2 separate regions of the Homo sapiens genome follow, and region 1 is linked to region 2. Evidence: promoter capture Hi-C in 16 types of primary human blood cells and fetal thymus (Javierre and others, 2016). All regions are on one chromosome and are shown on one strand. Each heading gives the region's core, a stretch centred on a gene start or on the middle of the fragment in contact. The rest is flanking DNA. Distances are from core to core; before and after follow the strand shown. Region 1 overlaps MCC (MCC regulator of Wnt signaling pathway). Region 2 holds the start of MCC (MCC regulator of Wnt signaling pathway).

Evidence for each region. The method cuts DNA at HindIII sites, captures the fragments that hold promoters and counts their contacts. A CHiCAGO score of 5 or more calls a contact.
Region 1: a fragment that was not itself captured here is called in contact with the fragment with the promoter of MCC in region 2 in 1 of 17 cell types (endothelial precursors); the score reaches 6.0 in endothelial precursors.

Annotation. Positions count from the first base shown.
Region 1 is chr5:113,378,987-113,384,312 of GRCh38, forward strand. All of the region lies in intron 2 of MCC (MCC regulator of Wnt signaling pathway), which reads right to left. Among named protein-coding and RNA genes, the nearest start is that of TSSK1B, 53 kb to the right of the region's middle. The HindIII fragment of the contact is 5,277 bases long and covers 1,392-5,326 here.
Region 2 is chr5:113,485,068-113,490,805 of GRCh38, forward strand. MCC (MCC regulator of Wnt signaling pathway) reads right to left here and starts at 3,386. Exons shown (of 19, transcript NM_001085377.2): 1 at 3,178-3,386. The coding sequence starts at 3,347. RefSeq lists an enhancer at 3,285-3,579. The HindIII fragment of the contact is 3,844 bases long and covers 2,419-5,738 here.

The sequences.
Region 1 (5,326 bases), core at 2,780-5,279, 110 kb before region 2:
AAAATTAGGTAGCATACAGAATACCTCACAACTGTTCTGGTATAATGTATGCATCACTTTGCTGCCAACAAGATGGGCTTTCACTAACACGAATTGCCCTCAGACCCTGCCTCAAGTCCCTGAGGACCATATGTCTGTCATTTCTGGGAGTGGCCTCTGGGTGGCAGTGTTATTTTCAGTTTGCACTTTGCTCATCACGTCAGTTTTCTAAGTTAAAGTTGCAAGAGACTCAATCATCTCTTTCAACAGACTGAGTGTTCTCTATTCCTTACTTGCTCTGTGGCTTACAGCCTCAGTTTCCTCCTGTATAGAAGGAGCATTCTATTCTAGATGAGGAAAGTAGTTGCAAGGATTAGAGATGATAATGATAACAACACGATTATATACTGAAAACCTGTGATATTTTAAGCTCTATGTAGGAACTTTACATGTAATATCTCACTAAATCTTTCCAACTTCCCTATAATGTTTGTGTTACCGCTTTATCTTGAGACATAAAAAACTTAAAGCTCAGAACAATCAGGAACTTAGCCTAAGTTCCATGGCAACTCAGTGGTGAAATTGGGATCTATCTTTCTAGCATTATAATACAAGTAAAGTGCCTAGCAAATTGTCTCATGCTAATAAATACTAGTAATTTTAAAACATTTGTATTATTGCTACAAGTATTAAATTGTATAGCTGATGTCTAAAACACATAAAAATTTAAAAATATTGTTTCTGGGATGGCTTAAACCGATATAAAAATCTGTTATGACGTGTTTGTTCAGGTGCCTTAATTTTCACCCAAAGAACTTTTGAGCAGAGAATGCATGGCCTAAGAGAAGCTTTGTGAGTAAAAGTTTATAGTCAATTAAGTGTGGAAAATGCTTATATTTTATTCTTCTTCTGGAGACTTTCAAGAAACAATAGCATATTAAAGGCTCCGAGATGTCTTGCCATAAAGAAAACTATAATCTAGTTTAACCCAAAGTTTTCACATGTACTTAACAAAGAAATTCCTTCCTCACATAATATTTATAACCATCTCTTTAAATCAGTGTTCTGCAGAAAACACTTAGGAGGAATGAATCTATGGAAATTCCTCTTCCGAGCTGAGCATGTAATGTTTTGACTAGTCTTTTTCTGCCAACCCAGCTCCCTGCTGTAGATGTGCTGTGAAATGTCGAGGCTGACAATAAACTTCTTCTGGCACTTAACTATTAAACCGAAGTTTTTCTTAGGCTTTTCTCACAACAGCACAACATTCTTTCTACTTCTCTCCATCCTACAGTCACAGGTAACCATTTCCTGAAACTCCTGTTCACAGTATTTCTTAGCTCCTCTTACAGAGCAGACCATAACTTCTGTACCATTCGATGGCTTCCAAACTTTTGTTAACTCTACTTTAAAGCTTATTGTCACTTAATTTGTCATGTGCTTATGCATCCACAATCACATTATAAGTTATTTAGTGTCTGGAACTGTGCACTGCACTTCCCTGTGTCCCTAAAGTAGCATGACAGTGCATTGCTCATTCATTCATTCATTCATTCATTCAACAAACATGCACCAAGCATCTTCCCTGTGCCAGGCACTATTCTAAGTGCTGGAGTATAGCAGTAAACATGACAATCAACGTCATTAGTAATCCGGTGGAAATTTATTTGTATGGGGAAAGATAGATAAGTAAATATTCAAGGAGGTACATAACTCATGTCAGATAAGGGTGAGTGGTATGAAGCAGTTAAGGGCATGTGAATGAGGAAAGGAGGAGAGGCTGCTTGAGCTTGGAAAGGCCTCTCTGAAGAGGAAATATTTAAGCCCGGTTAAGTGCCTAGTAAAGGCTCAGAGACAGGCTGAGTTTGCTAAATTAGAGGAAAAGCAGGAAGGCCAGTGTGACTGTGGCAAACATGGTAAGTCAGGGGAGCAAGATGAGATCAACTCAGAGTGGGTGGTGTGCACCACATTGTGGTAAGGAATTTGGACTTTATTTTAAGATGATACAGAAGCCACAGAATGTTTTAGACATGGGATTGAACTAAGCATGATTTTATAACTTTAAAAGACAATTCTGACTACAGGGTAGAAAATAAAATGTCAGGAGCCAAGGAAGGGGCCAGGGAGGCCAGTTAAAGGTTATTTTAGTAGGCAAGGCAAGATATGATGGTGATTTGGACACGGTGATGGCAGGAGAGCAAAGGAAGTGGGCAGATTCTGGCTATACTTTTGCACGCGAGACAGTGGGACTTGCCAGCTTGAGCAAACAGATGAACAGAAATATTTCCAAGATGCAGATATTTACTAAATGCAGATATTTCCTAGGTAAAGGTTATCTGGGAGACTAGTAAGCCTGGGAGAAAAAGTAGGGGACAGAATCAAAAGTTCTTTTTCACTGCATTAAGGTTGGAAGTCTGTAAGATATCTAGGAATACATGTCAATTTAACCTGATTCTGGAGATCACAGGAAAGGGCAGGGATATATATAATTATATTTGGGAGTTACTGGTACAAAACTAGTATTTAAAACCATACGACCAAGCTCGGCATGGTGGTGCTTGCCTGTAATCTCAGCACTCTGGGAGGCTGAGGCAGGAAGATGGCTTGAGTCCAAGAGTTGAGACTATCCTGGACAACATAGTGAAACCCATCTCCACAAAAAAATACAAAATATTAGCTGGGCCTGGTGGTGCATGCCTGTAGTTCCAGCTACTTGGGAAGCTGAGACAGGAGGATCACTTGAGTCCAGGAGGTTGAGGCTGTAGTGAGCCATGATTGCACCACTGCACTCCAGCCTGGGTGACAGAGTGAGATCCTGACTCAAATAAATAAATAAATAAACCCATGGGACCACAAGAAATCATCTAAGGAGAGAATGTAACCCCAAGGCACCTCCAAATTTGGAAGTAGTATAGGCTGAGAAAGGGAAGCTAAAATGGTAAACAGGAGAACATGGTGTCAAGAAGTCCAAGAGAATAAAGTATAGCTAGCATGAAGGAGTGGTCAGCTGGGTCAAAATCCAAAGATTTAGATGTGGGCAGAAAAGGAATCTTTGGATTGCCAACATGGAGGCAGCAAGAGCAGGGCCAGCAGAGTGGTGAGGACTGAAGATGGTAAGAGTTCACTGAAGAAAGGGTCAGAGAAATAAGGCAGTACTAATGGGGACACAAAGTCAAGAGAGGGTTTCCCTCCACCCCCAGAAGGGAGATCCTGGAGTTTACCTAAATAGAGTCAGAAGGAGAGGTTAATAGTATAGAAAAGAGAAGGACTAATTGAACATGTATATCTTTATCTAATTATTGTCCTTTTTTTTTTTTTTTTTGGATACAGGGTCTTACTCTATCACCCCGGCTGGAGTGCAGTGGTGTAATCATAGCTCACTGCAACCTCTAACTCTTGGGCTCAAGTAACTCCTCCATATCAGCCTCCTGAGTAGCTAGGACAACAGGCATGCACCACTGCACCTGGCTAACTTTTAAATTTTTTGTACGTTGCCCAGGCTAGTTTCAAACTTGTGACCTCAAGTGATCCTCCCGCCTCGGCCTCCTAAAGTGCTGGGATTACAGGTGTGAGCCATGGTGCCCAGCCTAATTAGTGTCAATTTTTGGATGTATTTGATTTACGTTAGGCTGAATAGGGAGTTGTTTTCCCAATCCCCAGGACTTAAAACCGGGTGGTAATAATAATAAGAATATTAGTTTAACACGTATTTAGTGATTATGTGTGGGGCATTGCTTTATGGACTTTACATATATATTAGCTCCTTTATTCCCCCAAATAACAACTGCCCCCATTCTACATTTGAGGAAAATGAGACACAGAGAGGTTAAATAATTTGTCTAGTGTCATGTAGACAGTAAGCATCAGAAACAGGATTCTCACTCAAATAGTCTGACTCTGAACTCTTAACTACCAGGAGAAAGTGGTAGGAGGTTTCACAGCCGCTGGCACTTCCTCAGTTCAGGACATGTTTTATGAATCACCTCCTGTCAGTTACCACCTCTTTTCCCAAGGGTATAAGGTTATATAAAAGGATGAAAGGGTATTGTTTTTCAATCCTTTCTCTGGTCAGGACAGTCTTCCAAGCTGGTCAAACCAATTAGATGTGTGCAGCAATTCTTTCAAACCAGTTCCTTTTAGGATTTTTATAAATATCTACTACACATAAACAATTTTTTTTCACAAAAAATTTCCTTCTGTGTACATATTTTGATACACATTTACACATTATTTTAATGCTATATAGTATGCAATTATTGGTTGGGGTGTTCCACAATGTACTTAACACTTCAACTATGTATGTGTGTACACTTATGTGTTTATAGAAGAAATCCATGTTCTTGGCAGAAAAATCTGAAAATACAGCTTAGCAGAAAAAATTCCTTCATTTCATCATTTAATAAATATTTACTGAGTGTCTATTTTGTGTCATGCAAACTTACGAATCATGCTTTCAAATACCATTAAAAGCATGAAGAAAATGCAAAAGAAAAACTGCAAGATACAAAATATGCAGAAGATATGTGGAAAAATTAGTAAAACACAAATCACACACATGACGAGAGAGACAGAGGGAGAGGAAAAGATTCCAGAAGTAAGTATATCAAACGTAGGCAGTAGTTATTATTTCCAGGTGGTAGGATTAGTATGATTTTTATTTTCTTCTGCTTGCCTTTTTTTCCCCGTGTTTTTTTATAATGAACATATATTACTTGAATACTCAGAAAGTTTGTATTTCAATATTAAGTATTTCTACATATTATGTTAAGAGCACATGCATTACCAGACATCTGATTTGCTGCTAAAGTAGAATATATGAAGGTAGTAACGCATGGAGTGTATGTGGACATTTTTATTGTTTCCATTACTCAATAATAAGAAGCATTGTTTAAAGATGTGTGTGTATGTGGCACTACACAATTATCTATGCTCATTTGGACAGGGACAACCAACATGACCCTTTACTTCTTGCCAATAGATCTACCTAGCAGAGAAACAATGAGATCAAAGACACATTTTCAAGGAAAAACAAACCCTGAAAATTCAGATACTTTCTTCCGTCTCTTTGTCAAGGCTACCCTTTAAGATGTCTCCTTTCTTTCCTTTTTAACTTTTTATTATGTAAAATCTCAAACATACTAAAAAATATGTATAACTGAGTATTCAAAAATATATACAAGAAACCCCATGTTCCCATCACCCAATTTCAATAATTATCAACAGTATTAAGAACTTTCTTTCCAACTGCTTATCTTGCACCAGTAAGAAATATAAACTTATGAACAGAAAAACCATCTTTATAGAAAACGATTTTAATCTTAAATTTAAAAAATTGCTTTTAGGCCAG
Region 2 (5,738 bases), core at 2,136-4,635:
TGGCAGAAGCAGCAATTCCAAGAATCTAGTTAGCTGATGCCTTTTTTGTCAGCCTGATAGGAAGACTGGGCCAAGAGAATATTGAAAGCACAAAGCACCACCCCTTACCTCCCTGACATTTCCCCTCACGGCCCAGTTTCTCTTCCACTTATCCTTCCCCCACACTTAAGATTTCCAGCCTACTCCTGTTTAGAATGAGGGTTCAGCGGAGGACCAGAGCAAATATACTTGAATGTGGATTATCATGGGATGGGGGGTTTATTATAGGTATTAACCGCTACTTGCCCACCCAATATCTATTTCCTGCTCTTAGTAACAGAACCCAGATTTTGTTTAGGAGGTAATGTGCCTAGTTGAATTATATGCTTCCTCGGACTCTACTGAAGTAGGCATGGTTAAGTGATGTAGTTTGACCAATAAGATGTCAATTAAGGGATTTGGGAAAGCTCTGCTTTAATGATACAGGCACAACTTATTTCCACTTCCTTTTACATCTTCTTCCCTAGAATTTGGGGATGAAGAGGGAGACAGGGCAATCACCTTTGGACTATGAGATAACCATGAGGATGAATGCTTTATGTGAAAAATGGTGTTGGAGAAAGGTAGAAGGTAGCTGGGGACTGACACCACCGCAGAGCTGCTGCCCCAACCTAGATAGCCTACCTCCAGATTTCTACTAGGTGACAAAGCCAACCCTTACTTGACTATGGTTAGGTTACTGTGATGACATATAGTCATCTGAAATTCTAACAGATACAGCTGTCTACCAGGAACATAAATTTAACGTCTTTAGATGAATCCAAAGTTTTTAAGGTTTTAATGTTAAAAAGTCCAACTCTCATGTCTGATAGAACAGGAATGCACAACCCTCCAAACCACATCACCCACTACAGAGTGGTAAGTACAGGTCATTAAATGAAAGCAGCACAGAAAAGTGGCTTCAGAGAGGGAATCATTTAATGCCCCTTACCTTCATTAGCCCCATTCCCCAAGTCTTACCACATAAACGTAAATTCCAGGTAAAACTGTGCTTACCAGGTAAACACACTTCCAGACAAGTTCCTTGTTGCCCTAGATTGCCATCCCTAAACTTCTCCTACATGGCAATTCTGCCACAGCATAATTTTCAGGGCAGCTCCACCCACAGTTAAAGTTATGATTTAGGGTTCATTACTACACATACCTTGAAACTTTTAAGCAGACACATTAAAGTAATGCAGCTCAAGGAATGTTAACAACTTTTTCCACTTTTGCCCCAGCCAGTTTCTACTCTAATCCAAAACGGCTTCTTTATCACCACCCACTTTACTCAAATTACGCTTACAGAATTCATTATCCTCCCGGGTAGAATCACCGAAAATAATGTGAGCATTTATATAGAAAGTGTAGTTCAGATAAAGCAATATATTAATAGGCCAAATTAGAAAAGGATAGCACGCTGCTAGTTTTCTGTATGCACTCTTGCCCGTGTGAAATTAAACTTTTTTGCATCCATGCGGGGAGCGGTGGCTCAGGCCTGTAATCTCAGCGCTTCCTAAGGCCGAGGCGGGCGGATCACTTAGGGTCAGGAATTCGAGACCAGCCTGGCCAAATTGTGAAGCCCCTTCTCTACTAAAAATACGAAAATTAGCCGGGAGTGGTAGTGGGCACCTGTAATCCCAGCTACTCGGGAAGCTGAGGCAGGAGAATCTCTTGAACCAGGAGGCGGAGGTTGCAGTGAGCCAAGACCACGCCACTGTACTCCAGCCTGGGTGATAGAGCGAGATTCTGTCTAAAAAAAAAAAAAATTGTATCCAAAGTTGGAGTTTGCCTTTATTATTGCAAATGAGATAATAACCTTTCAAGTAGGAAAACAACAAAAAGGAAAACTATATAATGAAATTTCTTTTACTCCCAGAACCAAAATAACGAGACTTCCAGATAGAAATTTGCATGGAGTCAATCAGAATTACATATTATTTTCATTTCCGAACAGAATTACTCCATCAAGTTTTCTGATATCTTCCTAATGTTTCTCAGTAAAACTTTAGCAAAGTAATAAAAATTCACCTAAGAATGATCAAAATTGCGTTGAGTCCCAAATAAATAATTTTTTTTATTTTAAGGGAAAAATTCCGCACTTTGCTTTCTTTTTTTTTTTTTTAGGTAGGCAGGGACAATCAGGAAGCAGCCCCGGATTTTCAGAAACGATCTTTAGCATCACCAAGACATAGACTAAAGAAACATGTAATGCACAACTTAGGCTGCTCCTTCATCCAAGGCAATTCAAATTTCCACGGATACCAAGTCTTCAATGGCCGGTGTCAACCATTCAATAGAAGCATACCAGAAAATGTTGCGATTGCCTTCTTCACCACAAGAGTCTAAGTGACACAAATTTGGGCAGAAGTAATTATTTGGCCAAGCCGGGAGGCAGGAAGCTTAAATACCGCCTCTGTAGGAAGTGCGGGGGATCCGAAGCAAACACCCCAAAGTTTGTTTGTGAGTGGAGGCGCGGAGGCGCCCGGAGCCACGCCGAAGCTCACCTGGTCAGCGCACAGAGCCGGGTAGGAGTCGGGTCTAGCCCTAGTTTGCTCCTGAGCGCTTCGTTCCTCTCAGGCTACTGCGTTTAAATCAATACTGGGTGGCAAACGATACCCATTCTTTGGGCTCTGAAGTTTGGAATTCATGGGTTCTGCGGCACAAGAAAGTTTCTTCACAGGTTATTTCCCTGTCCGAGGCTGTCGCTTAGCTCATCTCCTCCCGGTGCGGCCCTGGGGTGTCCACCAAGCCGCCGGGCAGATCGCTGCCCCGTGCTGCGGCATCTTGATGCCCAGGACCCCGAGGCTGTGGGGCAGCCCCTCCTACCTGGGACAAGCGGCCAGAACTCCTTTTCCCACAGGGAAGAACACTCCAAGCCCCCGGAAGAGTGCGCATCCTAAGGAGATGTCTCCCAACGCCTAGACAAAGACAGCGCTGGGAAAAGTTGGACCAACTGGCACCCCCGCAAGGCGAACAGAGCAGTCCCCTCGGCCTTCGTGGCCGAGCCGGCTACGCGCTCTCGGAGTCGCGGCCAACTTTTCCCGCGAGCTTCTGAGCAACTTGCCGCAAGTTGGGGCGAGGGGGCAGAGCAGGGGTCAAGGGCGCGCGGAGGGACTGATCTCGCTCCTGTCGGTTTCCTCGTACCTCCCCGCGTACCTGCTGATGTATCCGTCCCCGTCGCCGTCGCACGTCTGGAAGAGGCGCCGCATCCTCTCCTCCTCGCCGGTGCTGGACGTGTCGCTGCTGCTGCTGCTGCTGCCGCTGCCGCCGCCGCCGCCGCCGCTGCTGGAGCTCCCCGCAGCCGCTGCCGCCGCGGCCGCCATCATGCGCCCGCTCCCTACTTGGGAGGAGGAGTACGCGCGACCGCAGCTGGAATCCGCGCGGCGCGCAAGCTGCCTGCAGCCCCGAACTTGCCTGACAACGGAGCATGCCCAGTGGCCGCCGGGGCGCTCCGGGCGAGGGATTCCACCTCTCCGGGTTTTGCCCGGACTGGGAAGATGGGCGCTCTGGAATCGCCCGAGGAGGCACCTCAGGGAAGAGGGAGGAGGGGAAGGTGGCTGGAAGAGTCAGGGAGCTAAGGGTGGCAACGGGAACACAAGAGGAGGCAGAATACACTGGAAGCCCCCGGGAAGGGTGTCAGCATTGTGCATCCGGCAACGACGCGGGCCCGGGACACTTGGGGACGCTTCAGGCAGAGGGCAGGTGTACTCCCGGCAGACCTTCTCCGACCGCCCGGAGTCATGGCTTCCTTTTCCAGAGAAGCTATATAAACACTCTCCTTCTGCAAACTCAAAACGGTGCTTGTAATCCCACTCTCCAGGATTGTTCCGGGTTCTGTACCCATAGCCACCAATGAGAACCGGAATGACTGGCCTTTTTATGAAATTTTGACACCTGTCAAGAAACCTGGCCCTCGCAGCCCTCATCTTGGCTCCCACTCTGTACTGGGAAGAGTCTGCACGCTGTGTGGCATTGTGTACGTTGGGTCAATTTCTGGAAACGGCTCACTCTACTGGCCAGGCATCACTAGAATTTCCCCCAACAGCTTTAATAATGCCAAGAGCGAACATAATAGATGGTCTCATTTGATCCACACTACAGACCTGGAAGATGCCTCTTTTATTATCAATCCTACGACTTAGGAAGTATTAATAGATAAGTACCTCATAGAGTTATCTTACATATAAAAGGAGAGCAGACATAATGCAGTTAGGACAATGTCTGACACCTAGTAAGTGCTCAACAACTGTTAGCTCTCATTGTTCCCAATTTACAGGTAAGAAAACTGAGGTACCAAGACCTGCTCAAGGTTCCAGGTTTAGTAAGTGTTAGGGCAGAGGCAAGCCCGGGCAGCCTAACTCCAGAGCAGGAGCCTTTAAACACTGCACTATTCCCCCATAGCCAAAGGGAAACCACAGTGAAGCAATTTGTGGTTTCGTGAATGACTCATTATTCTGTCCTGGATTTTCTGCCAGAGAGGCGTGTGAAGTTCTCTGGTGGTTTTAAAATATGTCCACAGATTCTTTGGTGCACCCCTCATCAAGAGGTGGAGTCTGTTGCTTCCCCTAAACCTGGATTGGACTTGTGACTGCCTTGACTTCTGAGACTAGGTTAGAAAAGGCAATGCAGATTGCACTTGGCTCTCTCCCTTGGGACACTTACCTTTGAAGCCTTGAGCTGCCTGAAAAGAAGTTTGGCTACCCTGAAGCTGGAGAAACCATGCAGAAAGACCATGTAAAGAAAAAAGGAGATGACCAAAGAGCTACAGCTGTTCTAGCCCTGGATCTTAGAATCTTCCCAGACTAGGTGCCAGACATGAGTGAGAGATGATGCTAGCTCTAGATGCTGCAACTGCATTGGAGACCCTGAGCAAAACTGGCTAACCAACCCCCAGAGCTGTGAAGATAATAATTAAAAATTGTTGTTTTAAGCCATTAAGTTTTGAGGTGATTTGTTATGCAGCAATATATAACTGGAACAAGTCCATATGTCTTGGGAATGTCTGCTAGGTCAGAAGGAAGGAATCTCTGCTCTCTTTCTCCTCCTCTCCACCCCATCTACCTATTCCTACTTTACTTCTTTATTATTCTCTAAGTTCCCAGTATTTCAGGGCACTAAAATCATAGATTCATGAGTTAATGAGTTAATGGGTTATCATGGGAGTGGGACTAGTGACTTTATAAGAAGAGAAGGAGAGACCTGAGTTAGCAGGCTCAGCCCCCTTGCCATGTGATGCCCTGCACTGTTTTGGGACTCTGCACAGAGTCCCCACCAGCAGGGTGGCCCATTGACCTTGGACTTTTCATTCTCCAGAACTGTAAGAAATAAATTCATTTCTTTATAAATCACCCTAGTTTCAGGTAGTCTGTTCTAAGCAACAGAAAATTGACAAGACCAGAAATTAGTACCGGGAGTGGGGTGTTAACGAAAACGAATACCTGAAAATGGAGAAGCAGCTTTGAAACTGGATAATGAGCAGAGGCTACAAGAATGAAGCAGCAGTCTAGAAAAAGCCTAGGTTCTAGTGAGGGCTGAGAAGACAGGAAGAACAGGGAAAGTTTGGAACTCCTTAGAAATTGGTTAAATGGTCATAATCAGAATGCTGATGGAACTATGGACAGTAAAGGCCATTCTGACAAGGTCTCAGATGGAACTGAGGAACAAGGTACAAGAAAATGGAGTAAAGACCATCCTTGTTATAAATTGGCAAAGAACTT